Regions from separate parts of the Homo sapiens genome. Here all the other regions are linked to region 5. The links are contacts of gene promoters, found by promoter capture Hi-C in blood cells and fetal thymus (Javierre and others, 2016). All regions are on one chromosome and are shown on one strand. Each heading gives the region's core, a stretch centred on a gene start or on the middle of the fragment in contact. The rest is flanking DNA. Distances are from core to core; before and after follow the strand shown.

The links. Contacts are between HindIII fragments. The CHiCAGO score rates a contact against its expected background, and 5 or more counts as called.
Region 1: a contact is called between a fragment that was not itself captured here and the fragment with the promoter of NOP58 in region 5, in 1 of 17 cell types (fetal thymus). The highest score is 6.8, in fetal thymus.
Region 2: a contact is called between a fragment that was not itself captured here and the fragment with the promoter of NOP58 in region 5, in 2 of 17 cell types (total B cells and fetal thymus). The highest score is 8.0, in total B cells.
Region 3: a fragment that was not itself captured here is called in contact with the fragment with the promoter of NOP58 in region 5 in 1 of 17 cell types (fetal thymus); the score reaches 6.8 in fetal thymus.
Region 4: the fragment with the promoter of KCTD18 here is called in contact with the fragment with the promoter of NOP58 in region 5 in 1 of 17 cell types (total B cells); the score reaches 5.0 in total B cells.
Region 6: a contact is called between a fragment that was not itself captured here and the fragment with the promoter of NOP58 in region 5, in 1 of 17 cell types (fetal thymus). The highest score is 5.4, in fetal thymus.

What each region holds. Positions count from the first base shown.
Region 1 is chr2:200,898,334-200,902,794 of GRCh38, reverse strand. NIF3L1 (NGG1 interacting factor 3 like 1) reads right to left here. Exons shown (of 7, transcript NM_001369441.2): 6 at 3,327-3,410. It also overlaps the pseudogene RNU6-762P. Among named protein-coding and RNA genes, the nearest start is that of NIF3L1, 11 kb to the right of the region's middle. The HindIII fragment of the contact is 580 bases long and covers 1,021-1,600 here.
Region 2 is chr2:200,806,127-200,811,114 of GRCh38, reverse strand. All of the region lies in intron 1 of BZW1-AS1 (BZW1 antisense RNA 1), which reads left to right. Among named protein-coding and RNA genes, the nearest start is that of BZW1, 3.3 kb to the left of the region's middle. The HindIII fragment of the contact is 1,234 bases long and covers 1,269-2,502 here.
Region 3 is chr2:201,116,715-201,121,320 of GRCh38, reverse strand. All of the region lies in intron 1 of CFLAR (CASP8 and FADD like apoptosis regulator), which reads right to left. Among named protein-coding and RNA genes, the nearest start is that of CFLAR, 2.9 kb to the right of the region's middle. RefSeq lists a silencer at 1,194-1,253 and enhancers at 2,362-2,731, 2,370-2,873, 3,222-3,271. The HindIII fragment of the contact is 2,552 bases long and covers 610-3,161 here.
Region 4 is chr2:200,508,391-200,513,358 of GRCh38, reverse strand. It overlaps KCTD18 (potassium channel tetramerization domain containing 18), which reads left to right and starts at 3,291. Exons shown (of 7, transcript NM_152387.4): 1 at 3,291-3,731. RefSeq lists a silencer at 3,059-3,518. The HindIII fragment of the contact is 2,465 bases long and covers 2,825-4,968 here.
Region 5 is chr2:202,263,904-202,268,439 of GRCh38, reverse strand. It overlaps NOP58 (NOP58 ribonucleoprotein), which reads right to left and starts at 2,677. Exons shown (of 15, transcript NM_015934.5): 1 at 2,454-2,677. The coding sequence starts at 2,498. The HindIII fragment of the contact is 14,423 bases long and covers 1,538-4,536 here.
Region 6 is chr2:201,252,044-201,256,794 of GRCh38, reverse strand. It overlaps a transcript of CASP8 not described here. Among named protein-coding and RNA genes, the nearest start is that of CASP8, 6.1 kb to the left of the region's middle. The HindIII fragment of the contact is 6,710 bases long and covers 1-4,751 here.

The DNA of each region.
Region 1 (4,461 bases), core at 61-2,560, 1.4 Mb after region 5:
TACTGCCCAGCAGACTTATGCTTTGTAAGCACCAGTATTTCTGTCGTCAACTTAGTCTAATATATAAGGATGAAATGAATTTAAGATTACTTCCAGGTTAAAAACAAAGTATTTTTCTTTGACTTAAGCAAAATCCCTAGAAACTCTGGAGGGAATCTCATCTGTTGTGAAAAGATTTGGGGAAAATTCATATTCTGAATTTTTAATTTATATTGTTAATTTTTTTTTAGATGGAGTTTTGCTCTGTCACCCAGGCTGGAGTACAGTAGCACGATCTCAGCTCACTGCAACCTCTGCCTCCTGGGTTCAAGTGATTCTCCTGCCTCAGCCTCTCGAGTAGCTGGAATGACAGGCACCCACCACCATGCCTGGCTAATTTTTGTATTTTTAGTAGAGATGGGGTTTCACCACGTTGGCCAGGCTGGTCTCGAACTGCTGGGCTCAAGTGATCTGCCCGCCTCAGCCTCCCAAAGTGCTGGGATTACAGGCGTGAGCCACCATGTCCAGCCTAATATTCTGAATTTCTTAAAATGCAGTTTGTGAATTTGATGACTTCTAATTTAAGAGCAAAACTGTACTGTGTACAATTAGGTTTGTTCTTTAAAAAGTACAATTTTGAACTGTATTTAGAGACAGAAGGGCATATAAATTTAAGAAAAAAGGGTTCTTGGAAAAAAATGAGTTCTCTTTTAATTTTCCCATAAGAAAACACCTATAAGTAAAAAAATGAGTTTTCTTAATTCCAGAATTTTTTAGTTCCCCACAATCTCCTCCTAATAAGTGTCATCTCATTATAAGGAACAGTTTTTATTCAAGCACCTTTTAAAACATCTTAATCTATAATAGTAGAAGTAAAAAGCAAGAAAAAGACACTAAGATGGCCCAGTTGGAAGCCTTGTTTTAGGAAAGGTAAGTCTGGCTGCCTGTACTGTGACAAATTCATTGGCTGGAGAAGGCATGAAAGGGGGGAAATCAGTGAAGACCCTGCAATAATAGCTGAAGCCAATGGAAAGAAAAGCTTGGCCCAGGATGGCAGCTTGGGAAAGAATAAGCAAATGGAGAATGAAAAGACAAATGGGAGAACTTAATTTACAAGGAGCAGGCTCCCCATCTGCTGGTCTTACGGGGTATTACCCTTAACAACCTAATACAATGAGAACACGGCCTCAGGCTCACAGGAAGCGTGATGAAGTTCAGCAGAGGTCCTTTAGGTGGGGCTTCACATCTCTGAAGTTATACTCAAAAGTGATGCCTCACAGACCAGAGACAGCTAATGCTAGCCGGATAATATATTTTCTATTTCTCCCCACAGCCAGATAGGAAGGACATTTTAACATTTTGGAACTGCTTGAATTTATCTTATGCACGTATCATTATACTTTATCATTGTTTTAAAAAACTAGTTTTTAAAAAAGTATAAGGAAACAGATACCCCAAATTGAGAGAGAAGCACAAAACAAAGAGCCTATACTCTTTAAAAATGTCAATGCTATGGAGACAAAGCTGAGAAACTATTCCAGACTGAAGGAGACTAACAACAACTAAATGCAATGTGAGATCATTGGCTGGATATGGATCAGAAAAAGAAATGCTATAAGCTTTTATCAATTGGGAAAATGTGAATATGGACTGTATATCAAGTAAGTGTTTTAACAATATTAAATTCCCATGTTTGATAATTGTTCCATGGACTTAGAATGTCTTTGTTCTTAGACTATACACTGAAGTATTGAGAGGTAAAGAAATTGTCATGTCTGCAATTGATTACAAAATGGTCCTAGGGGAAATACATCAATATATATATAGAACATATTTTAACTTGTATATATTATGTATCTATACATGCAAACACAAATGTGTATAGACACATATATAATATGCACATAGGGAATGTACAAATATGGCAGAATATAACCATAGTAACCAAGGTGAAGAGCATATAGGAGTTCAGTATACTATTCTTGCAACTTTTGCATAGGTCTGAAATTCCTAAGTAAAATGCTAAAATGAATTTTAAAATAGCCAGACACAATACTGTAAGATATTCATATTGAAATTTCACTTTAATCTGGTAGAAATTTAAGGGCTTACAAAAATCTTTTATCTTCAGAAAATATAAAATAAGTAATAGTCACATACATGTTTTGTTTTTTTAAATCAATTTATTGGTTTAGAGCAATTCCATCAGGCTTGCTCAGATGCTGCTCCTCGGTACTTCAGGATGTGACAATGCTTTGAGTGCAGCAGCCTTTGTAAGAGAGTGTGCTATATAACAAAGTGTGGGTGTGGGAGGCAAGGGAAGCATGGAAGTAGCCAAAGGAATGGCCAGAGGGCTAAGAGCCTAGAGCCTGGTCCTCAAAGTGGGAAAAGTAATTCTTTAACTCATTCTCTCCTAACCCTAAGAAGGAGGAGGTAAACAAAGTGGCAACCCCTTAAAATGCCTCCAAATCCTTTGGAGGTGTAAGGGGCCATGTTTGGCCATATTCCTGAGTAGTAACTACATAAAGTAATTCTTTCAATAAAAATTAGCCAGGACCTATTAGGTAGTATCCTAAATGAGAAAGTATAAGGCCCAGCAGCCAGACAATTACTATCCAACAGAAGTGCACATTGGAGGTCAAGGACAAAGTGATAGGGACCCACAAGAGGCAGGAGCAGGACAGTGTCAGAGAAGGCTTCTCAGAGGGGGTGTTCACTTATCACTAGGAGTACAAGGAAAAGGCATTCTAGCCAGAGAAAACAGCATAAGCAAAGGGTACAGGAAAGGGGATGCAATGTTCAGGCTCCACCAGACAGATGAAGGAAATCACTGAAGTCTTTTTAATCAAGACCATCAAATTTGCACTTTGAAAAGTTAATTTCAGGAGAGTATATGGAAGATACCATTAGAGGGTTGATGCTGTACTTCAAGTAGGAGATGGTGCCTGGATAGAGATAAGGGGGAAGATTCTAGAAAGATTTGGGAGCTTGAATTGATAGGAATTGATGATTGGCTTTAGGCTGAGTAAAAGGAACCATTTCCTAGCTAAGGTGACAGGGTAGAAAGTATCCCACTGATGTGAAATCTGAGAGGTTTGGGACAGTTTAGGAAGAATGTAGGTAAAATAAATGCTGACCATTAACTTTTGAGATAATGTAATAAACTGTTCAATGATTTCATCCCTCCACAAAGAATGCAGTAAGTCCCCAGTTCTGTTGTAGTTTCTGTTTAGTTCAGGTTCAGAAAACATTAATTAGGTATCATCTATGTGCCAGGTACTGTCCTAAAATTTGCCATTTTTGATTTTGCAAAAAATAAACCAAGAGAGATCCAAAGTCTGTCCTACCTGTGAGGTAAAGGTCAGCCTCAACACCCTGCAGAACGCTGCTCCCAGAACCAGCACACAGGGCCACGACTTTGACTTGAGACTCTTCAAAACAGAGGAAACAAGAGACCAATACTTTACAATTCCCTTTCATTTTACTATTATAATTTGTACCAAGAATCCTAAACATAATACAGATTTCACTCCTGGTCTCATCACCAGTATATGAATTGTTCTTACTGCATTTTAAAAAAAACATGTTTTAATATAAGCAAACAGGTCATTCTTTGATATTGCATAGCTAACCCAAGGCATGGTTATTATTCCTTTGTTGTGTTTTTTTTTTTCAACAACCTTTGTAAATTGCGCAAAATACGGAACAATGCACAAATTTGCGTGTAATCTTTGCATAGGGGCCATGCTAATCTATATCATCCAATTTTTAGTATATGTGCTGCTGAAGGGGGCACCGTTATTCCTTTGGACATGGCTGCACAAACTCACAAACCACTGAATAGTACTAATGGTGCAGCTCTAGGCTGTATTGCAACAGTGCTAGGTAAAATAATCTCACCTGGGTCTTCAGACAACAGTGAGAGGTAAGCAAGTACTATCTCTATTCTCAGGTGAGGAAGCTAAGGAACTAAAAGGACTATAAAAAGAGGAATGCTACAAATGGATTTGGCACTATTTTTAAATATACTATTTATTCTCAAAAAGCATCCTCTGGAAAGTGAAATAACAGCAACTTTCGAGCCAAAATCCAAGTATTTAGCACTTGGGTTTCTAAAATGAACACTTTAGTGGACACTCCAGTTCAGCAGCAGGGTATCTCAAAGAGGGGGCTTTGGAGTTATTTTGGAAGTCAAATCCCACCTCTGCTATCCATTTTCTTTGGACACTAACTCCCTTGGGTTGTTTGATCTAACTGGACTTTTAGATAAGTTACTGATATGGTTTGGCTCTGTGTCCCCATCCAAATCTCACCTTGAATATAATCCCCATAATTCCCACGGGTCAAGGGCGGGACCAGGTGGAGGTAATTGGATCATGGGGGCAGTTCCCCCATGCTGTTCTTGTGATAATGCGTGAGTCTCACGAGATCTGATGGTTTCATAAGCATCTGGCATTTCTCTTGCTTGCACTCATTCTCTCT
Region 2 (4,988 bases), core at 636-3,135, 1.5 Mb after region 5:
GCTGGTCCGCACCTTGAGAACCCCTCAGTTAGAGGCTATATCATCAGGGAGCTGGGGTACGATCAGATTAGATAGTGCGTGTGAAAAGCACTGTGGACGTGACAAAACTCTGTGCAGATAAAGATGCACAGCGCCTCTAGGATGTAGCCCCATGTTTTTATTCACTGTACAGTAGTTTACTTCTCTCCAGTTGCTTCCTCACTCTCTGGTAGGAGGAGAGTGGCTTCTCTTCCCTAAACCTTTTGATAAAATAGTTTGTTGACTTCTTTTCCCTAATTAACTATCTGACCTCTACCCCACCCCCCCGCAACTTCATGGAAAAATGACTTTCTCAGCGTTCGTTCCTGAAATTATTGCCAAACCCAGTGTTTTATTCTTCACCCTGTTTGCCTCCTCTGAGCATTGAATGTTACCTACCTCTCTCCTTGAATCCTGGCTCCAGCTATCCTGGTTACGTTCTGAATGTGCCTTTGCACGGTATTTTCTGACTCTTCTTTTCTGTACTGATACCTTTTCTTTCTGGATACTTTCTTCTATGGCAGTCTCATACATTCTCAAGGATTTAACATTTACTCCACTTAAAAGAGTTCCAAGATCATCTACTGAATCATTAAGCAAATATTTGTTAAATCCAGGCTCTATGCCCTTCCAAGTTGAGGCAACAGCAGTGGGAAGGAGGCAGGAAACAAACTGCATCTGTTGGAGGAACTGCAAGAAGCTAGTGTGATTGGGAGGGCTGTGGGGAGCAGAGGGAAGTGGCTGGAGTCTGATCTCTAAGTGTCTAGCCCCTTCCTTTCTCCCAAGGCCCCAGTCCACACTATCTGGCATCTTCACTTCATGGCTAATTTAACACTGTCAGTGCTGTCAATTGCTCTTCCCCCAGAACTGTATTTTTCACATCTGAAGTTCTGTTAAAGGACAACGTTTCACAAATAAAAATGATAACTAATATGTCCCTATATGTATCAGGCCCTCTTCTATGCACTTTATGTAGTAACCCCATTTCATCCTGAAAACTACCCTGTAATCTAGACACTATTATTAGTCCCATTTTACAGATGGAAAAGCCGAGGCATCGAGGTCAGGTAACTTGTCTAAGATCATAGCGCTAGTAAGTGGAAGAGGTCCAGTTGAACCCAAGCAGTCTGGCTTCACCATTATAATGCACCGCCTTACCACCAAGATCTTATTTATTCATTCAACAAATATTTATTCAGCTAGAGACCAGTAGAGATAGTGACATGTTACGCCTATGGCCTCACAAAGCTTATCTTCTATTTTTGCCACGTTTTAAAATTGTATCATCTTTCCCCAGTACCATCTTGATTTAGGCATCTATTACCCCTAACTAAATGGGACTTTTGCAATAACTTCCTAACTGTACTATCCCCTTTCTCAACATTTCCAGAGCAATCTTCTCAACTGCAAGCTGAATCATTTCTCTTCACTGTTTAAATGCCTCTGTTTATACTCAGGGATAGCTCTGACCAATGTTTTTCACCTTTACTTCCCATCACATTTGTGGTTCTTAACCTGTTATTACCATCATTGTGGGGTATGTAGCAAATGATTTTTGACTAAAAATGATATTAAAGTAAGCAGATTATTTTCTTTAAAATGTAAAGTGGATTAAAGGTTTTCCTGAACTCCTGGCCTCAAATAATCCTCCCACCTTGGCCTCCTGAAGTGTTGGGATTACAGACCACACCTTGCCACTTATCTTTTCTCTGCTTTTGGGTGCACCCATGGGAATAGGCACCGTGCAGCTAGCAGGGGAAACGTTGTTTGTGAATTGTATTATGGTAGGAAAAGGTTCCAAACAATTGAACTCTATGCTTTGGTCAGACAGGACACATCTTGTCTTGACCTTTCTTGAGATGTCCTTCCCTCATTTTCCACTGTCAAAATCCCACTATTGTTTCAAGCCTTATCTCAACTACTGCTTTTTTCCCATAAGCCTTTCTTAGTCATGGATGTGAACACATTCCTTCTTTGTAATTGGGCTACAGGCATGAGCCACTGAGTCTGCTAATTTTTTTTTTTTTTTTTTGGTGATGATGGGGTTTTGCTTTGTGGCCCAGGCTGGTCTCAAACTCCTGGCCTTAGGTGAGCCTCCCGCCTCAGCCTCCCAAAGTGCTGAGATTATAGGTGTGAATCATCACGCCTAGCCTTGCCCAGTTTTATGGTTGTTTTGGGAAAAAGGATATGCTGATTTCTTCACTCTGCCATTGCTGTGAATCCCCCTTAGTACTTTTGGATTTAAAAATTTTGAACTACTTAAAAAGAAAGGTGCTAAGTGCAACATGTGAATGTGCTACTGCTTTTAACTTCATTGATGGGAATGGATACCTAAGTGTTTCTTTTTTAAAAGCAAGTGACAATAGGTTTTTATTCCTAACAACTAGAAGAATATCAAGGGCCTGTTTTGAAAAGCACATTGTTGCCCTTGGAAAATGAGCTGGGGGAAGTATTTATTCCTATGCTTTGAGTCTTGTAGAAGCTTATAGAACATCCTATGAACCTGGCTTAAATATTGTAGCATATGTATATGAAATACTTCTAGTTACACACACCTATATATGTATGCATATATTTATGTATGTATGTGTGGCCAGAAGTATTTTCATAGGCTCCACAAAATTTTTACAGTGAAAAAGCTTTGAGGTACAATGAGCTTTTAAATAATTTCATTTTAGGTAAAAAATGTGTTAAATATCATTCACTTGCTACATATCTCATATATACCATTTCTTTTACTTCTTCATAGAATTATTTTAATAGTTATAATTATTAATAATATTTGACATAATCAAGATAAAAAGCATTGCTTAGTTACATTAACATTTTAGTAATATTTGTTAAATAAATACCCTCTTTTAGCAAACACACTCTATTATTTAGATTTTAGTTTTTTTTTTTTTTTTAATAGAGACAGGATCTGGTTATGTTGCCCAGAATGACCTCCAACTCATGGGCTTTAGCAATCCTCCCACCTCTGCCTCTCAAAATGTTGGGATTTATAGGCGTGAGCCACCACACCTGGACTCGATTTTTGAATAGGCCGAAATAATTGGGAAGCTTAGGGATTCAAGAAATTTGGCATACATGCATTTTCTGTTTCTCTCTCTCCCCTCTTAACATCAGAATAATGACAGGTTAAGGTGAAAACTCTTTGCTCCTGTAAAGTGCTTGTTCAGAATATAGTTTGAAGTGAGTTGCCAAATAAGTGATATTTGGGGTGATTTAAATATGTGCATTCTAAGTTATATAGCATTCAAGACATTCATTAAAACGAAGCAAAATAAAAACCAACAAGAGAACAGTGTAATGGCATGTGGTATGTTAGCTATAGGATTGTTTAGAAAAAACTGTTTACTGCTTATTATTAATAGTTCATATCTCCTAGAATATTACTGCAGAACTGAAGATTAAGAAATGTTACTAAGAGGCCGGACGTGGTGGCTCACGCCTGTAATCCCAGCACTTTGGGAGGCCGAGGCGGGCGGATCACGAGGTCAGGAGATCGAGACCATCCTGGCTAACACGGTGAAACCCCGTCTCTACTAAAAATACAAATTAACCGGGCGTGGTGGCGGGCGCCTGTAGTCCCAGCTACTCAGGAGGCTGAGGCAGGAGAATGGTGTGAACCCGGGAGGCAGAGCTTGCAGTGAGCCGAGATCCCGCCACTGCACTCCAGTCTGGGCGACAGAGTGAGACTCCGTCTCAAAAAAAAAAAAAAAGAAATGTTACTAAGGACGCCAGATCCAAACATCTCTGTGTTGGAAAATTATCTCCAATGCATAACGGTTTCCTTGGCATATTTAGATGGCCATCTTTCTTTGATGTCTTTTTTAAAACCTACATTTCATTTTTTGGGAGCCTCAGTGCGATGGAATTTTTTTTTTTTTTTTTTTGAGACGGAGTCTCTCTCTGTTGCCCAGGCTGGAGTGCAGTGGTGCGATCTTCACTCACTGCAACCTCCGCCTCCCGGGTGCAAGCGATTCTCCTGCCTCAGCCTCCTGAGTAGCTGGGATTACAGGTGCGTGCCACCACCCCTGGCTAATTTTTGTATTTTTAGTAGAGACGGGGTTTCACCATGTTGGCCAGGCTGGTCTCAAACTCCTGACTTCAAGTGATCCGCCGGCCTCAGCCTCCCAAAGTGCTGGGATTACAGGTGTGAGCTGCCGCGCCCAGCTGATGGAAAGTTTTTATTTAAGATGAAAAAGCAACTAAACTAAATAGAACTTAATCACTGCCTTATTGCTATTATTAGTAGTACTACTGCTATTACTTGGTATGTACTACTATTAGTAGTAATAGAGTGGTCACAGTAGACCTTAAATTTATAGAGGATGTTACTGTTTACAAAATATTTTCACATGCATTTTATAATTCTTCACAGAAACTTTGTGAGAAAGTAAGGCTGCCTTGCTTTCAAAGCAAGCTAACTATAGATAGAATTGATGATTATTAGTCTTCCAGAACAAGGCCATGGACTACCATTAAGTAAACTTAATGTCAATTTATCTGATAAGAAAAAGTGGAACCTTTTTTCTAATGATACATTTCAGGTCCTACTCTTAAAAAGCAGTCTTGGAAGATTTCCCAGATCTTTCTGGGATAAAATTAGTTTTCTTTAAAAAAGCAGTTTCATTTTCCAGAACTTAACCAGTATAGAAGGCTTTAGCATCAGAGAACTTTATACAATAAGGCTTGCCCAGCACAGAGATCCTTAGCACTAGGTGACTAGTTATAGTAAGTGCTGAAATGAAATTCTCTGTTAGTTCTCTATACCTGTGCTTTGAATTCAACTCACATTTTTCAATACCTAAATGCCACGAAGAACTTTCAGAACCTAAGCGTGTTAGGCCGTTCTTGTGTTTCTATAAAGAAATACCTGAGGCTGGTGCGGTGGCTCAGGCCTGTAATCCCAGCACTTCGGGAGGCAAAGGCAGGCGGATCATGAGGTCAGGAGATGGAGACCATCC
Region 3 (4,606 bases), core at 636-3,135, 1.1 Mb after region 5:
GATATAGTGTCTCCTCTGGGGGTATAGCTTTGTGCTATATACAACTTGTCTGTGCTACCACATATTTTATTAATAGCTACATCACGGAGCACAACCTTATAATTACTTACCAGATTAAAATAATCCAGCTTTATAATTATTTGCCAGATTAACATAATCCAGCCATGGCTTAGAAAAGAACTCAAGTATAAAATCTGAACTATGGGGTTTCAATAGCATACCATGGCCAAGGTTTTGGGTGAAACTTTTGCGCTGCTTCTATGTTTTCCAACCAGAAAGGGAGCTCCAGACAGCAGAGGGAGATCTACATGCCCCCATTCCTCAGCCCCAGCAGGTGCTCAGTAAATGCTGAAGGAGTTACTTTTTTCATTTAACTCTTGATTCAAAGTTGTGGTTATTGTTGCAGGGAATTTGGTTCACTCACTAGATAGTATTCAAGCAAGAGACTGTCAGGTACCTACTCTTTTAAACAATCTCATTGACTTTGAAAACTACTTTTGAAAGCTGCAAGTAAAAACAAACAAAAAACACAGATATATAAGCCAAAGGGAAGATAAAAAGGAAGTTCAAGGAAAAAACTCAAGAATTTCACAAGTAGATAAGGAAGCTTTGGTTCCCATTTCTAAAGTCACATGACTAAAGAAACTCATTACCCTGGGAAGCATTTTTAAACCTTGGAGTTAAGTAACTATGAGAGGATTTTTCAATTACATTTTTAAAAGTATACAAATATACATATAAATTATTCATTTCTTCAACTTAAGAGTTCACTGCAGAAGATACAAATTATCATGAGTATGCAGATGAAAGTGGTATCAAGTGGTGTAGCTTCTCTCTTTCATAATAAGTACTAAATCACCAAAGATGGCAACCCAGTATCGAGAATAAGAGAAAAATAATGTAGAAGATGTTTATCTATTTGGGCCAAAAACTTAAATCGCCAAAAAAAGAAAGTGGCTAGAAGTGGAGACCATCAGAGGAACATAAATACAGAACAAGTGTAGAAAAGGAAGCAATTTTCACAGGAGAATCACTTGAACCCAGGAGGCAGAGGCTGCAGTGAGCAGAGATAGCACCACTGCACTCCAGCCTGGGTGACAGAGTGAGACTCTGTCTCAAAAAAAAAAAAAAATGTAGCTGGGTGTGGTGGCACACACCTGTAGTTCCAGCTACTCCAGAGGCTGATGTGAGATGACTGCTTGAGCCTAGAGTTAGAGGCTGAAGTGAGATATGATCACCACTGCACTCCAGCCTGGGCAACAAGCAAGACCTCATCTCAAAAAAAAAAAAAAAAAAAGAAAAGAAAAGAAGGCCCCACCTTGAATCTTTTTTAGAAAAAAGCAGGTTGTAAATAAACACAATTTTAAAAAATGAAATATCTTGCAAACTAGAAAATAAACCAAAAAAATTGAGTGTTTATTTTTAAAAATATGTAAAAGACTGTATTTGAGAGCGCACATGTGTGAAAAAAAAAAAAAAAACATTAAACTGAAACCTTTGGTTATCTCTACGGAATGAACCCCTGGAGGTTTTCTCTATTTACTTTGCATGTATTTTAACTCATAATTATAATACAACTTGACTGAAGAGTGTCTGAAGAAAATGCATTACAGTACAGAATGTTAGGTACAATCCTGAAGCAAGTGCAAAGACAGCCGCTGAGCATATGAAAGTACAGAGAAAGGGCACCAGGGTGGGGTGTCAAGTCTTCTGAGGGGAGATGACAGGAAGAGAGTATAAGGGAGAGACAGGGCATTCCAATAATGATAGTGCTTTTCACCTCACTGATCTATAGTAAGAAAGAACGACCGGGTTCTGCAAGTTACCTGGGCATACTAAAAGAAAAGACAAAACAAACAAACAAATAAACAAAAAGAACCCATGGTGTCATAACTGCCCCACCATGGCCCACAGGCTTCCTCCAGTCAGGCTGTCAGTGGATCTTGTCTAAACTGCCTTGACTCGAAGTTACCTGTGTAGGTAACTGCTGAGTCTTCCTCAACCACATTGTGAGGTTATGGGGACAAGAACCAAGTTTAGATCCATTTCTATGTCCTCGGCACCCAGAACTCTGCCTGGCCCAGAGAAGCTCAATAAATGTTGGTAGGATTATACTGAATTAAAGGCAAGGAGGCATTGGAGTCCATAAACACGAGTTTAATTAGCCCCTGGGGCTCTACAGGGAAGAAATAATCAGACTTCAAGGGTGCCCCATTCCCCAGAGTCCATTCCTGGTATTTGAAAGAGCAACATGCCCCGGAGTGTTGTGAGTCCTCTGGAGGCTCAAGGAGACCTAGGGCCAAAAGCGAGGACTCAATCCTTTTCTGCCAGTATCGGGGGACAGTGCCCCGACGTCCCAGGAGCCCAGGGCGACACCAGCCCAGGGGCGGGGATCGGGCAGGATTCTCGGTCTACTCACGCCCGGGCAGCCGCCGGCTCTTCCCACTGGATCTCCGCCGGGACCAACTCCCACCCTCGCCGGACAAGCTCAGACCTGCTGCTCCGCAAAACCAGAATTGGAAATGCTCCAGATGGGACGAGGAACAAGGACAGAAAGTCAAAAGCATCAACAGGTGGCTTCGCCGGAGGGCGTCCGAGAACCTCTGCCTGCTGAACCGCTTCACGCCTAATCCCCGCCACCCACCGGCTGAAATGTTACCACACAAGACATAAATTCTAGAATCCTGTCTGCGGAATTCCCCGCCCCCCGCGCAGTTGAAACTTGCACAGGGCCACTCGCGTGTCTCTGGGTGGTAAAATTCTCCATGCGTGGTCAAACGGCTTATGCATAGCTCAGGACCGTTACGTGCGACCCCACCAGGACTGAGTGGGGACAGCCGCTGCGCCCCCACCACCTACTAGGAGCTGCGGTAGGACCTCCAATGCCCCAGGGGCCTAGGCAATTTCCGCTTCAGCTTCCTGGAGGTCCCCAGCCCAAGGCTCAAAAAACTGCACACTATCCGGCCCACCCCGGGTCGCGCAAGACTTTCGGGGGGAGGGGGAAACCCAGCGACCCTGCAAATGGCTTCACCTTGGAAACCGGTATAAGGAAGCAAGTAATACCGTGTTAAAAGAAGGTCAAATGTCAGTTACAAACAGAAACGTAAAACATAAAGTCGCTAGAGAAAGCCATTTTAACGAGGACATTTGACCCAAAAGCTTAAGTAAAGCAAGTATTAACAAAACAAGAAAATGGATGTAAAGCAAACAGTAAACATTAAAAACTCCCTTTCAACCCAGTCTTTTTTGTTTAGATCTTGGAGTTGGGCCGGGCATGGTGGCTCACGCCTGTAATCCCAGCACTTTGGGATGCCGAGGCGGGCGGATCACCTAAGGTCAGGAGTTCGAGACCAGACTGACCAACATGGAGAAACCCCGTCTCTATTAAAAATACAAAACTAGCCGGGCATGGTGGTGCATGCCTGTAATCTCAGCTACTTGAGAGGCTGAGGCACGAGAATCGCTTGAACCCGACAGGCGGAGGTTGCGGTGAGCAGAGATAGTGCCATTGCATTCCAGCCTGGGCAACAAGAGTGAAATGCTGTCTCAAAAAAAAAAAAAAAAAAAAAAGATCTTGGAGCTCCAGCCAGGTTTTTTGTTCAACGAAACTTTTGTAAGGTTATTTAGGGGAATCACCAAACCGAAAAGTGCCAAAAACTCCGTTCCTCTTATCGGAAATCTCTCTCTAAAGCAGGTCAAACCTTCCAGAGCCCGCTGTCTGTTGTAGATTATCGCAGTTTGTTGATGTCCAAAAAGCTTTACTTATGCTATACGCTATCCCCCTACTGGTTTCACCCCTCATTGCTTAAGAACAAATTTCAAATGTCAACCAATTAAAATATTCGCAAGACCTCTGGCGTCCTTGAATTTACTTCCTGCCCGTGGAGCCAAAAACTGATTCTGAATTTCAGTGGCCTTTGTTCTACTGCGTGCCACTGTTAATATTAAAAGAACATGGCCTTCTGTCCAAATCCAGACACCCTCAAGCAAGAACATCTTGAAGCCAGTTTACATTTCCCAGTCGTTTTGAGGCGGTGGAAAAGTGGCAGAAACAGGTTCATTTTAAAAGGCTCTAAAAACTTTTCATTAGCCAAGCATTCCCAGCTTTCCCAAGGCAAGCTTTCCTTGCACTTGGGCAAAATAGACATTAAACTGCTCTGGAAAATAACCGCCCTGACCAGGCTATTGTGAAATTCCCTCCAGGGCGGCGGCTCCCACTGAGTGAGATCGAGCGCATACACAATTGTTGGGAAAGTCCACGTTCCCAACAACTTTCGAAAGGAAAAATGCCAGATCTTCTCAACAGTTCACCCCAAGAATTGAACTCTCAAGATCATTTTAAGCAAAGTTTACACGACGCTGAGGGCCCGCCACTGAAGCTCGCGGGTGGGCCTCTGGGGCTGCGGCTGCAGGGGGCGGCCAGAGTTGGCCAAGGGTTACTTCCGGTCTCTCAGGTCCATCGGGGTGCAGCTTGTACCGCTGTGGCCCAGGTCGCCCCTTTCTGGGAATCCGGGGCGGAGTTGCGGGTAGAAGGGGTTCGGGGGTTCGGAGCCGGGCGGAAACGGAAGCGGGGGCATTCCGCAAAGCCCGCGGTAAACAACCGAGA
Region 4 (4,968 bases), core at 2,042-4,541, 1.8 Mb after region 5:
TTACTCTCAGCCTTTGACCTTGCTTTAGACTAAATAGAGAATGCAGAAGCCATTTGGTCAGACTTTTCTCATCTCTCCTCTGTGAAATCTACAACTTAGTTGAACTTAAATCTGTCTTCTGTGTTTTACCTCCTACCCCTGCTCTTGTCAAATGAAAATTGCTTAATTTGTGCTTTGGCTCCAACACCCTTTTGCTTTGCCAAGTATTTCATTTCTTCGGTTGTCCCCTCCCTCCCCTTCCTGCCTCACCAATCTCTGCCTATCTACTGAATCATTTCCATCAGCATAACCTGCTGGAATGACTCTCATCCTAAAATTCCTTTTCTTGACTCTTATCCCACCTTCACTACAGCTTCACTTCTCTACTTCTATTTACAACAAAGTCTTCTCTAAAGGGTTACATCCAGCCTTCCATCTCCCATTCACTCTCCAGCCCATTTTTGGCTGGTTTGCGTCCTCACCACAACATTGAAACTGCTCTTGTCAAGGTCACCTAGAACTCCCACAATACCAAATATGATGGACCCTTGATTTCTCAGTGGCATTTGACATGAATGACACTTTGCTCTCTTGGTTCCTGTAACTCCATACGCTCCTGACTCCCCTCCTTCCTCTTGGCTCTTCCTTGTAAGCCTGACTTCTAAATGCTGAAGTCAATGCTTCATGTTGTCTCTTCTCATTTATCTGCCCTTTCTGCAGATGGTTTCATTCACTCTCATAGCTTTAAATGCTTATGCTTTCCAAATATCCACCTTCAACACAGAATTTTACCCCTGAGCTCCAGATTTATTCAATTGCTAATTGATCTCTCTACCTGAATGTCTGAAAAGCATCTGAATCTTAGTAGTCCAAAACACAGCTTCTGATTTCTTCCCTCAAACCTATTCCTCTCCCATAATTCACTGACTCGGTAAACTCACTATTATCCCATTGTTCAAATTAACAATTTAGAGATATTCCTACATTTTTCCCTTTCCCTTAAATCCCATATATTGCAGCCATGAAAATGCACTTCTCAGATCTCCAATTGCAGGGAGCATTGTTGACTGATGCCTCAGCTGCTGTCCTTTGAAATTTATCACCAGGCTGCACTGCCCACTGACTGCTCCCAGCCAGTGACTGAGCAGAGGGATTTAAGGCAGGCCCATTCCTGGGAGACACAGAACTCTTCTGATATGGGGGACTTTGGCTTGAAGGCTTTCCACTGGCTGTGCTGAAACTTTCTCAGAACTGTATCATATCTACAACTTTTCCTACTTTTCCTTTCCTGTTCTCCACAAGGGTTGAAACTGTCTAATGTCTTTCCTAATTCCCCTCAGATGCTTCCCTGTTATTACCTCACAGGTGTTCCCTTCAATAAATCTCTCACATGTCTAATCTGATAATATTGTTTGCTTCTCAGGGGATCCATATTAACACATTGTATTTGATCCACCAACAAATTTTATGTCATGTCTATCTCCTGAGTACCCCTCTTGCATCCATCCACTTCTCTTTATTGCCAACACTACTCAAGGAGGAACTAAGACATTTCTCCCCTGGATTATTGCAATAGTCATCTACTTCCATCTCACACCTTTCCAATCCATTCTCATCTCAGTAGCTGCAGTGATTATTTTTTTTTAATAGTAAATCAATTGTGTCACTTCCCTGCTTAAAACCTTTCAATAGCTTCTCATTATGCTTACAGTCAAATTAAATTTCTACCATGGCCACACAATACTTTAGAGTCTGGGCTCTTGCCTCTCTCTTCAACCTCATCCCATCTCATCTTCCCCTTTGTCCTGATGCCCACCAAGGCTCAGACATACTAGTGGCCTTTCTCTTCCTACAAATTGCTGAGTCCTTTCCTGCCTGAGGGGCTTCCGACTTGCTCTCCCTTCTTCCTAAAATACCCTTCCTCCATCTCTGCAGAAGGTGGACTCATTCTGACTCCTAGCCCTCAACTTAAATGTCCACTCATTTCCTCGCACCTAGTTATCACTCTCTGTCACCACTTTGCTTAGTGTCTGTTTCTCCCACTTGAACAAGGGCAGGCAAACTATGGCCCATGGACCACCATTTGTTTTTGTCTGGCCCATGATCTAAGAATGGCTTGTACATATTTAAGTGTTTGAAAAAGCTGCATTTTTAAAAGAATATTTTTTGACACATGAAAATTATGTGAAATTGGAATTTCAGTGTCCATAAAGTTGGAACTAGCAATGCTCATTTGTTCAGGTTTTGCCTATGCCTTCTTTTAGACTACAACTGCTGAGTTGAGTAGTTGTGCATGGCCCACAAAGCCTAAAATATTTACAGAACAAGTTTTCTGCATGTTGTACTGGAAAGTAAGGTTGAACGCCCATTATTTGTCTCTTCCAGTCCTTTACTCTCAGTGCTTGCTCCATAGCTAGTGCTTAATAATTACAGGTTGAACAAACCTTCCCTCTCTCCTAAGACTGTTAATATCTAAGGGGATAGGTTGACTTACCTCTCTTTGGCTTATTCTCTTCTAAGAGCCAGTCAGGGAAATTTGGAACCAAATATTTTTGATTTTGGGGAAGCACCTTGAAAACAGGACTGTTATATTTCTCTTGAAATATCTAGCACAGTACCTTGCACAAGGTAAGATGGTGCTAGAAACTGGAAGAACTGTTTTAGGGTTATCGTTAACAGGAAATTAAGTAGTGCATGCAAAGCACTTAGCACAGTGTCAGGTGTACAAAAGTGTTGAATAAATGTTTGCTCTCGCCTCAATTTTCCTTGCTATAATGGGAAATAAATATCACCCTTTATATCACTGTCACACAGACTAAACAAGAATGCTGTGTGTGAAAAAGCTTTGTAAGCTGCAGACACTATCCAGATAGACTTATCCAAGTGCAATATATTAACACACGTTGGCACTGAGCAGCCCTGTTTGGAGGGATGGGCACTGACCTGGGGGTGAGAACACTTAACATCCTAATTCTTGCCACTTATTAAGTGACCTTGGACAATCGCAACTTCTGCGGCTGTTTCTTCTCTTCACCTGTAAAACCAGCCTCTGAACACACAAGACCGTCCCTTGGGGTTCAGCCCTGGCCTTCTCTACCGTGTGTTTCCCTTACCTCCGGGATGGAAGACCCACCCGACTCCGAGGCGGCCCACTGGGGCGAGACGAATCTGGGGGCGGGGCGTGGCGTGGCGTGGCGTGCCCGGGACGTGGCCTCCCTCCCTCCCTGAGCCGCTGCCTCAGAGCCGGGCCGCACGGGGGCGCCGCTGGGGCCGCTCTGCTCCCGAGTTGCCGAGCAGCTGAGAAGGCGTTCACTTCCGCGTCCGCCCCGCGGCGTCCGGCGGCCGCGCCGAGGGTCTGGCGGGCCGCAGGTCAGTCTGGGAAGCTGCCGACCCGCCCCACCCCCCCGGTGCGGAAGAGCCGGGCGCGGGATGGGCCGCGGGCCCGGAAGGCGGCGGGGCGCCCTGAGGAAGGGCACGGGCCGCGCTGGTAACGCGCGCGCCCCGGGCTGCAGGCTCGGGCTTCGGGCCGATTTGGGGTCTCCAGGCCGCGGAAGACCGTGGCGGGGCTTTCTGGCTCCCCAGCTCCTCCCGGCTCTTCCCGCTTCGGAAGAGGAGTGTGAGCCCCTTGAGCGATGTTTTTCAAAGTGGGGTTCGCGGGCAGATCCCGACCCCTCCTCAGACTTTCTGAGGAACTGTGTGCTGTGGCCGGAGTGTCTTCGTTTTCCCAAGCGTCCCTGATGGTTTTGATGCAGGTGATCATAGGAATGCACTCTGGGGGACATTGTCCCCGAGGGCTGGACACTTTCCACATAGCAGGGAGCCTAACTGGGTGCTTTTGAGGATGGGGCCTGCGGAGTGCCCCCCTGGTGTGGCCTTGGAATGATGATGTTCCTATCCTTAGGAGAGACTGCCTGGGGTTGGGGTAGGAGGAGTAGCTCTTAAATCCTCGGGATCGGGGTGCTGCTGTGTTATCGTAGCCAAGTCTTGAGATGGACAGATGCTTAGAGAGTGAAAGGGCTGGGTCAGGATCCATAGGGGTGAAACAGTGCTGGAGGAGGCGGTGTGGGGTGAAGCAGGAAGAACTTGGGGTTCGTCCTGCCGTTCTGGATTGGGGCTGGCTCCACAACCTACTAGCAGTCAGTCCTTGTGTGGCCCCTGTACACATCACTCTTTTTTTTTACCCCAATGGCCTCATCTGTCAACAGGGACAGTAATTCCCATCCAATAGAGTTTTTGTGTGAATTAGGTAAAGTGTGTCAAGTGTCTCTTACAATGGCTGGCACATAATAAGCATTCAGTAAATGGGAGTTATTAAGAGTGACACAGGCCCTGGCTTCCTTGGCCTACAGACCAAAAAGTAGGGATTAAACAAGTGGGGTAAAAAGTGGACAGACACACAGTATATTTGTAGAATTGTGCAAGGATTCTAACTTGGGGGGCAGAAGGATACGTGGGACGGTCATGCAAGAAATTAGGTTTGCTGAAGGCCTTGAAGAATAGATAGGATTCCAGGGAGCCAGTAATGAGGCAGAGGGAACAAGTTCCATCCCATGCCTCAGAGGTGGCTCTCACACATGGATCTTTGGAGTGCTGCTCCCAGGACTTCTAGGCAGTGCGAGATGTCACATCCATAAGTGGTTTTGGAAGGCTGGACCTTTGGCCCATAATGGTTTCTGTTGCTGACCGTATTCTACACACATGGTCTTCCTCAGATTTTAATGGTCTCCTTCCATTTTATTGGAGACTAGCTGGCATCTACAAAACGATCTTAGTTGTTCACTGAGTAAAAGTGAATTGACATGGATGTAGTTGAGCCTTTTGGCAGCCATTTTCAACTTGCTATGAAATGTGTGGATACTGCAGATTCTCAATAATTGGGAGTACCTTTTTCATCACAGTATTGTTTTAGGTGGGAAAACACCACAGTGTCACTTGTGGTTCTGTGATCTCCAGAATGGATTAAAAAAATCCAACCCTTAAACCTTCCCT
Region 5 (4,536 bases), core at 1,428-3,927:
CCTCAGCCTCCCAAGTAGCTGAGATTACAGGCGCACACCACCACGCCCAGCTAATTTTTCTATTTTTTTAGTAGAGACGGGGTTTCACCATGTTGGTTAGGCTGGTCTCAAACTCCTGACCTTGTGATCCGCCGGCCTCGGCCTCCCAAAGTGCTGGGATTACAGGCATGAGCCACCATGCCTGGCAACCAACATAATTTTATACCCTAGCATTTTGAAAGATTATGGGAAAGGAAACTAATAACTTTGAACCGTATGTCTACTTTTTTAGGAGATAAAATTCACCATATATCATATTAATTTTACATGTATCTTAATATTTGCCCTTTTAAAGTGTACAATTCACTTTTTAGTAGTGCATTTTCACAAAAATGTGCAGCCATCACTAGTTCCAGAACGTTTGTATGTCTTTTATACTCAGAAACGATCAATGTTAATTCCAATAATTACAAACTAATCAATGTCAACATATTCGAGCTTAACTAGTTATTTCTTTAGTACTAGGTTACATAAACCACAATTTAATCATTTTGAACAGTAACTTGCAGATAAATAGCACTGCAAACTCCAACGGAATACTCAAAGACATTTTCATGGAGGAGGACACTTTTCATTAATAGAAATCAGTAATTCATCGAGACACGGTTGAGTATTTTAGGACCCAGGTCTAGAAATCCGACCATTGATAAGCCAATTCCTTCCTACCATGGGAGACAACCAGTGCACTGTGCAGAGTTGCTCCTCTTCACATCCGGTACAGGACAGTATACTACGGCAATTAACGGTGAAATTCATCGATAGACACTTACAGACCACATTGGCTAAGAGAATTTGAAGCTATGCAGAACTCTACATGGTAATTTAGATAAGATTCCAAAAAGCTGGAGAAAAGTAAAATTGACATGTTTCGTAGCTCTAAAGGGGACTAAGGAGCTTACTTACAAGTTCCTTAAAACACTAATACGGCAATTGCAGATAACTCCAACTAAGGTAAAAACAAGCAAAACTGCCTTTTCGGTTTTAATGATTTTATTGGTTTTCTTAAAAATAACATTTGACGTATCAAATGCAAACTGCGTATTTTCAAATGTCAGAAGTGAAACATGGAGAACTCTGCACCCATCCAGACTTTCTTGCATCCACACCACAAATGGTTTTTTGGTTCATAGCTAAAATTGTATTACATTTATTTTTACCTAGCGTTTTTGCTTTCTACCAACATATATATATGTAGAATATACATAAAAACTTTATTTTTCATTGCTATATTCACAGACCTCAGAAGAGTTGCACCGCACAAGAAAAGGCACTCAATCTCACTCATTCTTCCTAACATCTCAACAGCATCTTGCGATACGAATGTCTTACCATTCAACCATTTCAGTGCTGACGAACTTGTCAAACTTTCCCCACGAAAACAACCAAACCTCAAACTGACATCACCAGCCCAGATGTTTTCCCCTAAGCTTCAAATCTGAAATACTGAACTGCCCGATCTACACAACTGCATTATCAGGTCTAATAGACAACGCAAGCTTCGCACAGCCCAAACCGGAAATCTTTAGTCCTTCCCCAAGAAACTTTCTTAACATCTTATTTAAACCAAAACCCCACATTCAATCTATTAGCCAGTCCTTCCTGTTCTACCTTCACAATTTCTATCGATATTTGTTTCTCTCCATACCAGGCAATTTCATCTTGTCCAAATGAATGCAAAAGTATTCTTGCTGCCGTTCTTATCTCCTCGAGTCTAATCTCCACACAGCAGAGTAACCGTATTAAGACAAATTAGCAGGTCATTCCTCTGCTTAAATCCTTTCGATTGGCCGAGCACGGTGGCTCACGCCTGTAATCCCAGCACTTTGGGAGGCCGAGGCAGGTGGATCGCTTGAGGTCAGGAGTTCAAGACCAGCCTGGCCAACATGGTGAAACCCCGTCTCTACTAAAAGCAAACAAACAAACAAAAACAACTAGCCAGGCGTGGTGGTGGATGGAGGCCTGTAATCCCAGCTACTCGGGAGGCCAAGGCAGGAGAATCGCTTGAACCCGGGAGACGGAGGTTGCAGTGAGCCAAGATTGCGCCACTGCACTCCAGCATGGGCAACAAGAGCGAAACTCCATCTCAAAAAAAAAAAAAATCTTTCGATCATTCCTCAAAACATCTAGAATAAAGTCCGAATTCCCTATAATCTGTTAAATTCTAACACGCCTCCTGCCCACCCCTTCAACGGGAGGAAATAAAATCCTCTAATGCAGAACGGGTCTCCCCAAACGGCGGGGCCACGTGTTACACGTAACATGGCTCTCAGGTGTAAAGGCCTTCTCCCTCCTCCCAGAGCCCGGGCTATAACAGGCACCCACGCTACTCTGAGTAGTTCCGTGCTTAAGTCTTTCCCTCTCCTCGTCTGTCCAGCATCCGCCTTCCCCCTTTAACGGCTCGCTCTCCCACCTACCTTAAAGATGGCGTAACCCACAGACGTTTCAAACAGCACCAACATGGTGAGGCCGGGTCAGGGCGCCGCACGGCCTGCCAGAAGCTGTAGAGTCAGTTCAAAAACACCGACTACGCGGCCTCAAAAGGCCTCCTAGGCCGCGGCGGGCAAAGCACAAATGCGCTCGCCGTCCCGCAAAGAATCAGAACACGCTGCCTAAACCCTCCACGCTGTACTGGAACTAGGACGCACGAACGCGCTACTCCTTCTCTGAGGATTCTGGGATAGCAACGTCACTTCCGACAGAAGACTGCCGCAGAGATTGCCGTCACTTCCAGAATGTTCCCGCCACAGCGGGCTGGGGCGGGCCGAGAAAGTTTGTATCGCGGGATCTAGGGCCTGAACGGAGCCTTTGCGCCTTTTTTTCTTTTTTCTTTTTTTCTTTTTTGGAGACGGAGTCTCGCTCTGTAACCCAGGCTGGAGTGCAGTGGTGTGATCTCGGCTTACTGCAACCTCCGCCTCCCGGGTTCAAGAAATTCTCCTAGCCGGGCGCAGTGGCTCACGCCTGTAATCCCAGCACTTTGGGAGGCCGAGGCGGGCGGATCACAAGGTCAGGAGATCGATCGAGACCATCCTGGCTAACACGGTGAAACTCCGTCTCTACTAAAAATACAAAAAATTAGCCGGGTGTGGTTGCAGGCGCCTGTAGTCCCAGCTACTCGGGAGGCTGAGGCAGGAGAATGGCCTGAACCCAGGGGGCGGAGCTTGCAGTGAACCAAGATCCTGCCACTGCACTCCAGCCTGGGCGACAGAGCGAGACTCCGTCTCAAAAAAAAAAAAAAAAAAAGAAATTCTCCTGCCTCAGCCTCCCCAGTAGCTGGGACTAGAGGCACACACCACCACGCCCAGCTAATTTTTGTATTTTTAGTAGAGATGGGGTTTCAGCATGTTGGCCAGGATAGTCTCGATCTCTTGACCTCGTGATACGCCCGCCTCGGCCTCCCAAAGTGCTGGGATTACAGGCGTGACCCACTAGGCCCGGCCTTTTTTTTTTTTTTTTTTTTTTTTTTTTTTTTTTTTGAGACAGTCTGGCTGTTGCCCAAGCTGGAGTGCAGTGGCACTATCACGGCTCACTGCAACCTCCAACTCCCAGGCTCAAGCGATCCTCCCACTTCACCCTCCGGAGCAGCTGGGACTACAGGCCTGTGCCACCACACCCAGCTAATTTTTTGTAGAGACAGGGTTTCACGATGTTGCCCAGGCTGGTCTCGGACTCTTGACCTCAAGGGATCCTCCCACCTCGGCCTCCCAAAGTGCTGGGATTACAGGCGTGAGCCACCGCGCCCCGCCACCGCTAGAGATTTAAAGGGGAAAAACTTCACGATATTATTTTGTTAACCCTCTATGAATTATATGTTCACTTTGAGAGAAACGAGGAGCTGTTTCGGTGCCAGTCTGCCTCAGGCATCTAGAATTTGAAATGCCAGCTAGTGCCATTAGACTTTATCCCCTTTCAAGCCCTGCCTTGAGGCGAAGGCCTCAGAATGACACCATTACTGTCACTATATTTGTGAGCATTCCTGGCCGTTCCCTTCTGTCTGGCCAAATGAATTATTAGCACAGTTTTCTTTCAATAAGCCTCTCCTATTTTTGCTGCATTTGTTAAAATGACCCCAGGGTATGAATTTAGAATGTCTTTTTTTTTTTCTTTTTCTTCTTTGTTTTTTTTGAGACGGAGTTTCACTCTTGTTGCCTAGGCTGGAGTGCAGTGGTATGATCTCTGCTTACTGCAACCTCTGCCTCCCGGGTTCAAGCAATTCTCCTGCCTCAGCCTCCCGAGTAGCTGGGATTACAGGCATGTACCACCACGCCTGGCTAATTTTGTATTTTTAGTAGAGATGGGGTTCCTCCATGATGGTCAGGCTTGTCTCGAACTCCTGACCTCAGGTGATCCACCCACCTCGGCTTCCCAAAGTGCTGGGATTACAGGCATGAGCCACTGTGCGGGGCTGAATTTAGACTGTCTTCTTGATTTAGTGTTACTTGCTTTTCTGGAAGCCTTTCAGTCTCAGGGACTGGGATTAAATACCCCAGTTGTTTCACA
Region 6 (4,751 bases), core at 275-2,774, 1.0 Mb after region 5:
GCAATAACACATTACCTATATGTTGCACCTTGACATGAACTATCTCTAATTCTGGCAGCAGAATTCTCTAATTCAGGGTATTGTTCTCCCATGTTATGGATGAGGAAACTAAGACTCAGACAGTTACATGGAGTCAAACTCAGTCCTGCTGAGCCAAAAACAGAGATTTTTCTATGACATACTAACTCCCTTTCTCCAACACTTCAAATTTGGAATGAATCATGTGGATGGAAGAGCAACAAATTTAAACTAATAGTGACTGGTGCATAAAGGGCAGAAGGTCCTTGGTTTCTCAGTCACCTAACAAAAAGGAGTTGGCCTAATAAAGGCACAAGCTAATACTTATCAAACCATTGGCGTATGCCAGACACAGCCACCTAAACTAGCTCATTTCCACTTCTGAACAGTTCTCAGAAGTGGATGCTACGATTGGTCCCATTTTATGGATGAGGACACTGAGGCTTAGAGAGGCTGAAAGACTTGGCCACGCTCAGTCAGTGAGTGACAGAATAAGGTCTGTTTGTCTCTAAAACCCTGAGTGGTTAGTCACCACCTAAACATTAATGCATAGCCATGAATCTCAATCTGACCCACCTCAGAATTAACTGTAACATTTCTAAAAATATGAGTCTTCCAGCTCCAGCTTTGGAACTCCTATCTGAGCAAAACTGTGGGAGATAAAACAGCTGGAGCACTTAGAATAGTGCCTGGGCCTTCCACATTTCTCAATAAATAGGCTGTGGGTGCAGTGGCTCACACCAGTAATCCCAGCACTTTGGAAGACCAAGGCAGGATGATCGCTTGAGCCCAAGAGATCGAGGCCAGCCTGGGCAACATAGGGAGACACTGTCTCTGCAGAAAATTTTAAAAAATTAGTCAGTTATGGTGGCATGCATCTGTTGTCTCAAGCTACTCAGGAGGCTGAGGTGAGAGGATAACTGGAGTGTGGGAGGTCAAGGCTGCAGTGAGCTATGATCACACCACTGCACTCCAGCCTAGGTGACAGAGCGAGGCCCTGTCTAAATAAATAAATAAACAAATAAATAAATATTCACTACTATGTTATTTAAGCTCACAACATCTCTAAGATGGCTATAAATTATTAGGCTTACATACAGATGATGCAATTAAATGCAACATCAATTAGCTGACAAATGGCAGGGCCAGTGCATGAACTCAGGAGTGTCTCACTCAAAAGTTTCTGCTCTTAGCCCCTGTACACATCTCCCTGCATGTACCCAGGCCCAGCCTAGCAGAAATGGATGATCTGCTGGAGGCATCTGAGGAGCAGTACTGAGAATGGGGGGAGCAGGGTAGGAGTGGGAGTCTCAGGGCTTCAACTTGTGCCATTTGTAAGGCACTGACCCTAGATTCTCCCAGTGTGTGTGTATATATATATGACTGATAAATGAATTATGGCCAGGCACAGTGGCTTACCCCTGTAATCCCAGCGCTTGAAGAGATTGAGGTAGGCGGATCACTTGAAGCCAGGAGTTTGAGACCAGCCTAGCCAACATGGCAAAACCCCATCTCTACTAAAAATACAAAAAAATTAGTTGGGCATGGTGGCATGTGCCTGTAGTCTCAGCCACTCAAGGCACGAGACTCACTTGAGCCCAGGAGGCGGAGGTTGCAGTGAGCCGAGATGACACCATTGCACTCCAGCGTGAGTGACAGAGGGACACTCCGTCTCAACAAAAATAAAAAGTGTTAATAAGTGAATTATAAACCTCAGGTTGGTTGAATTCCTATTGTGAAGCACAAAGATCATTATTACTTCATTTGCTGTAACCAACTTCTCACCCTCATCTTGAGACATGTGCCTGTGTGACTGTTTATATCAGAATTAATAATGTGCATGGTCCTTAGTCCCAGGGAAGCTGAAAGATCCGGAGGTGTTGCTGGAGCTGCAGGGACATGGAGAGCTGGCTCCTGCCCAGCACAGAATGAGGACAGGTCTGCTTTGACTCAATCTCCAAGTGGTTTCCACCCTCTAGAATCTCAGCTCCCACCTGGAGGCCTGGTCCTGAGACTACTGTGTCTCCTACCATGTCCACCAGCCGGCTGAAAGCAGATTTGGACCTGTAAGTGTCCCTAAAAAAGCCAAGAAAGACCAAACCTCAGCTCAACTGCAACACACCCTTCCCATTCATCTTGATGTGACACCCTTCAAAGATAAACACTCACAGTGAAAGCAAAATCCCCTGAATGTGCATGCCCTTTGTTTGTTGCCAATGTGGGAGTTTGTATATAACCCATGGGCCAGGATGGTGTGGTTTGTGGATTCAACGGGGCCGCTCCCCTTTCCTTGACTGGCAGCTGGCCTTGGCTACTGCCCTAGACTCCTCCTCCAGAGCGTGGCAAGGGAAGGGAAAACAGATTCCATTCACATCTATCTCATTCCTTTCTGGGCCTTGTAGGGAGAGGCTCAAAGAGTTGTCTAAGACAAAGATTTTAGCAACTGGGATTTTAAGTTTTTCTTTTGGTATTAAAATGATCAGACAGTCATGGGGCATTTACAGTTACTGACCTCAATCTGCATACTCTGCAGCTTGTTGATTGCCAATACCTACCCCTTCTGCTTTCTCAGAAAAACTACTGCAGACATGAATCCGTACCACGGATTTAGAAAGGAAGAAATTGAGTTTGTTAGACTCTGATTCCAATATTCATGTCACTGACCTAGCTTTTCCAGAATTTTTTTTTTTTTTTTGAGATGGAGTTTTGCTCTTGTTGCCCAGGCTGGAGTGCAATGGTGCAATCTCGGCTCACCGCAACCTCCGCCTCCTGGGTTCAAGCGATTCTCCTGCCTCAGCCTCCCGAGTAGCTGGGATTACAGGTGTGTGCCACCACACCCAGCTAATTTTGTATTTTTAGTAGAGACGGGTTTTCTCCATGTTGGTCAGGCTGGTCTCGAACTCCCGACCTTAGGTGATCGACCCACCTCGGCTTCCCAAAGTGGTGGATTACAGCTGTGAGCCGCTGCGCCTGGCCCAGAATTTTCTTAAAGGTTTGGGCATAGAAGAGGTGAGGATCCCCAATATTCTTGAGGCACTATATGCCCATACCCAAGAAATGGGGCACCTCAGACGCTAAGAATAATTGTCAAGAACCATCTTTTAAAATGTATTAATTGTGGTAAAATATATATACCATAAAATTTACCATTGTAACCAGTTTTAAGTGACATCAAGTACATTCACGTCGTTATGCAACCATTCCCACCACCCAGGAGTCACTTTTAATGATATAATAACAGTGCATTTGTTAAGCACTGTGCAGTTTTAAAGCATTTTCCCTATTTTATATCATTAGATCCTCACTGGTAACATTTTTTGGTCTCAGGGGTAGAAGAGCATGTGTCTTACAGACAGGAAGACGTTGAAGAAACGAAAGCTCAGAAAAGTGAAGTGACTCTGAAGGGCCTACATAGCTACTGTAACCTACATACAGCACTAGTGACTGTTTCTTAAAAAAAAAAAAAAAAAAAAAAAAAAAAAAGATCAGGCTAGGTGCAGTGGCTCACATTTATAATCCTAGCACTTTGAGAGGCTGAAGTGGGAGGATCACTTGAGCTCAGGAGTTTAAGATCAGCCTGGGCAACATACTGTCTTTACCAAAAATCAAAAAAATTAGTCGGGTGTGGTGGTGCAGTGGTGGTGCACACCTGTGGTCCCAGCTACTCAGGAGGCTGAGGCAGGAGGATTGCTTAAACCCAGGAGTTCAAGGCTGCAGTGAGCTATGATTGCATCACTGCACTCCAGCCTGGGGGACGGAGCGAGCCCCTGTCTAAAACAAAAAAAAATCAGATGTTGGGAGGGTTATTCCCTGAAACAGATATTTTCTCCATTAGGTTTCACTCCTCACTTTCTGTAAAGAAAATTCCTTTTTTTTCCCCCTCCATAATAAGTGGATTTTAAGAGTATCTGTGGTAGTAACAAAACACATTCACTACAAAATGAATTAGGCAATTATTTCTTTCCTCAAAACTGTTAGTGATAACACCACGTATTCTCAGTAGATCTAGAAGGTGGGTTATAAAATTAACTTTTCGTGGTTTACAACATATGACACAAAATCCTAGTTTCTGAGAAAATGAGTCATCTCTCACCTGACATGACATGTTGTTGTGGGGGACCAGATGTTCTTTGAGATCCCCCTTCAAAAGATACAGTTAAGAGTGAAGAGACAAACCACAGATTGGGAGAAAATGTTTGCAAAACAAAAGACCGTTACCCAAAAGCGTACAAAGAACTCTTAAAACTCAACCATACTGGTGGATCACGAGGTCAAGTGATCCAGACCATCCTGGCCAACATGGTGAAAGCCCGTCTCTACTAAAAATACAAAAATTAGCTGGGCATGGTGGCACACACCTGTAGTCCCAGCTACTCGGGAGGCTGAGGCAGGAGAATTGCTTGAACTTGGGAGGTAGAGGTTGCAGTGAGCCAAGTTCATGCCACTGTACTACAGCCTGGTGACAGAGCGAGACTCTGTCTCAAAAAAAAACAAAAACAAAAACAAAAACCATGCTGTTATCCAAAAATATACAAAGAACTCTTGACACTCAACAATAACAAAACAAACAACCCAATTGAAAAGTGGGCAAGAGATCTGAACAGATACCTCACCAAAAACATATACAGATGGCAAATAAGCATATGAAAAGATGTTCAACATCATATGTCATTAGGGAATTGCAAATTAAAACAACAGTGAGATACCACTACATATTTGCCAAAATTGCTAAA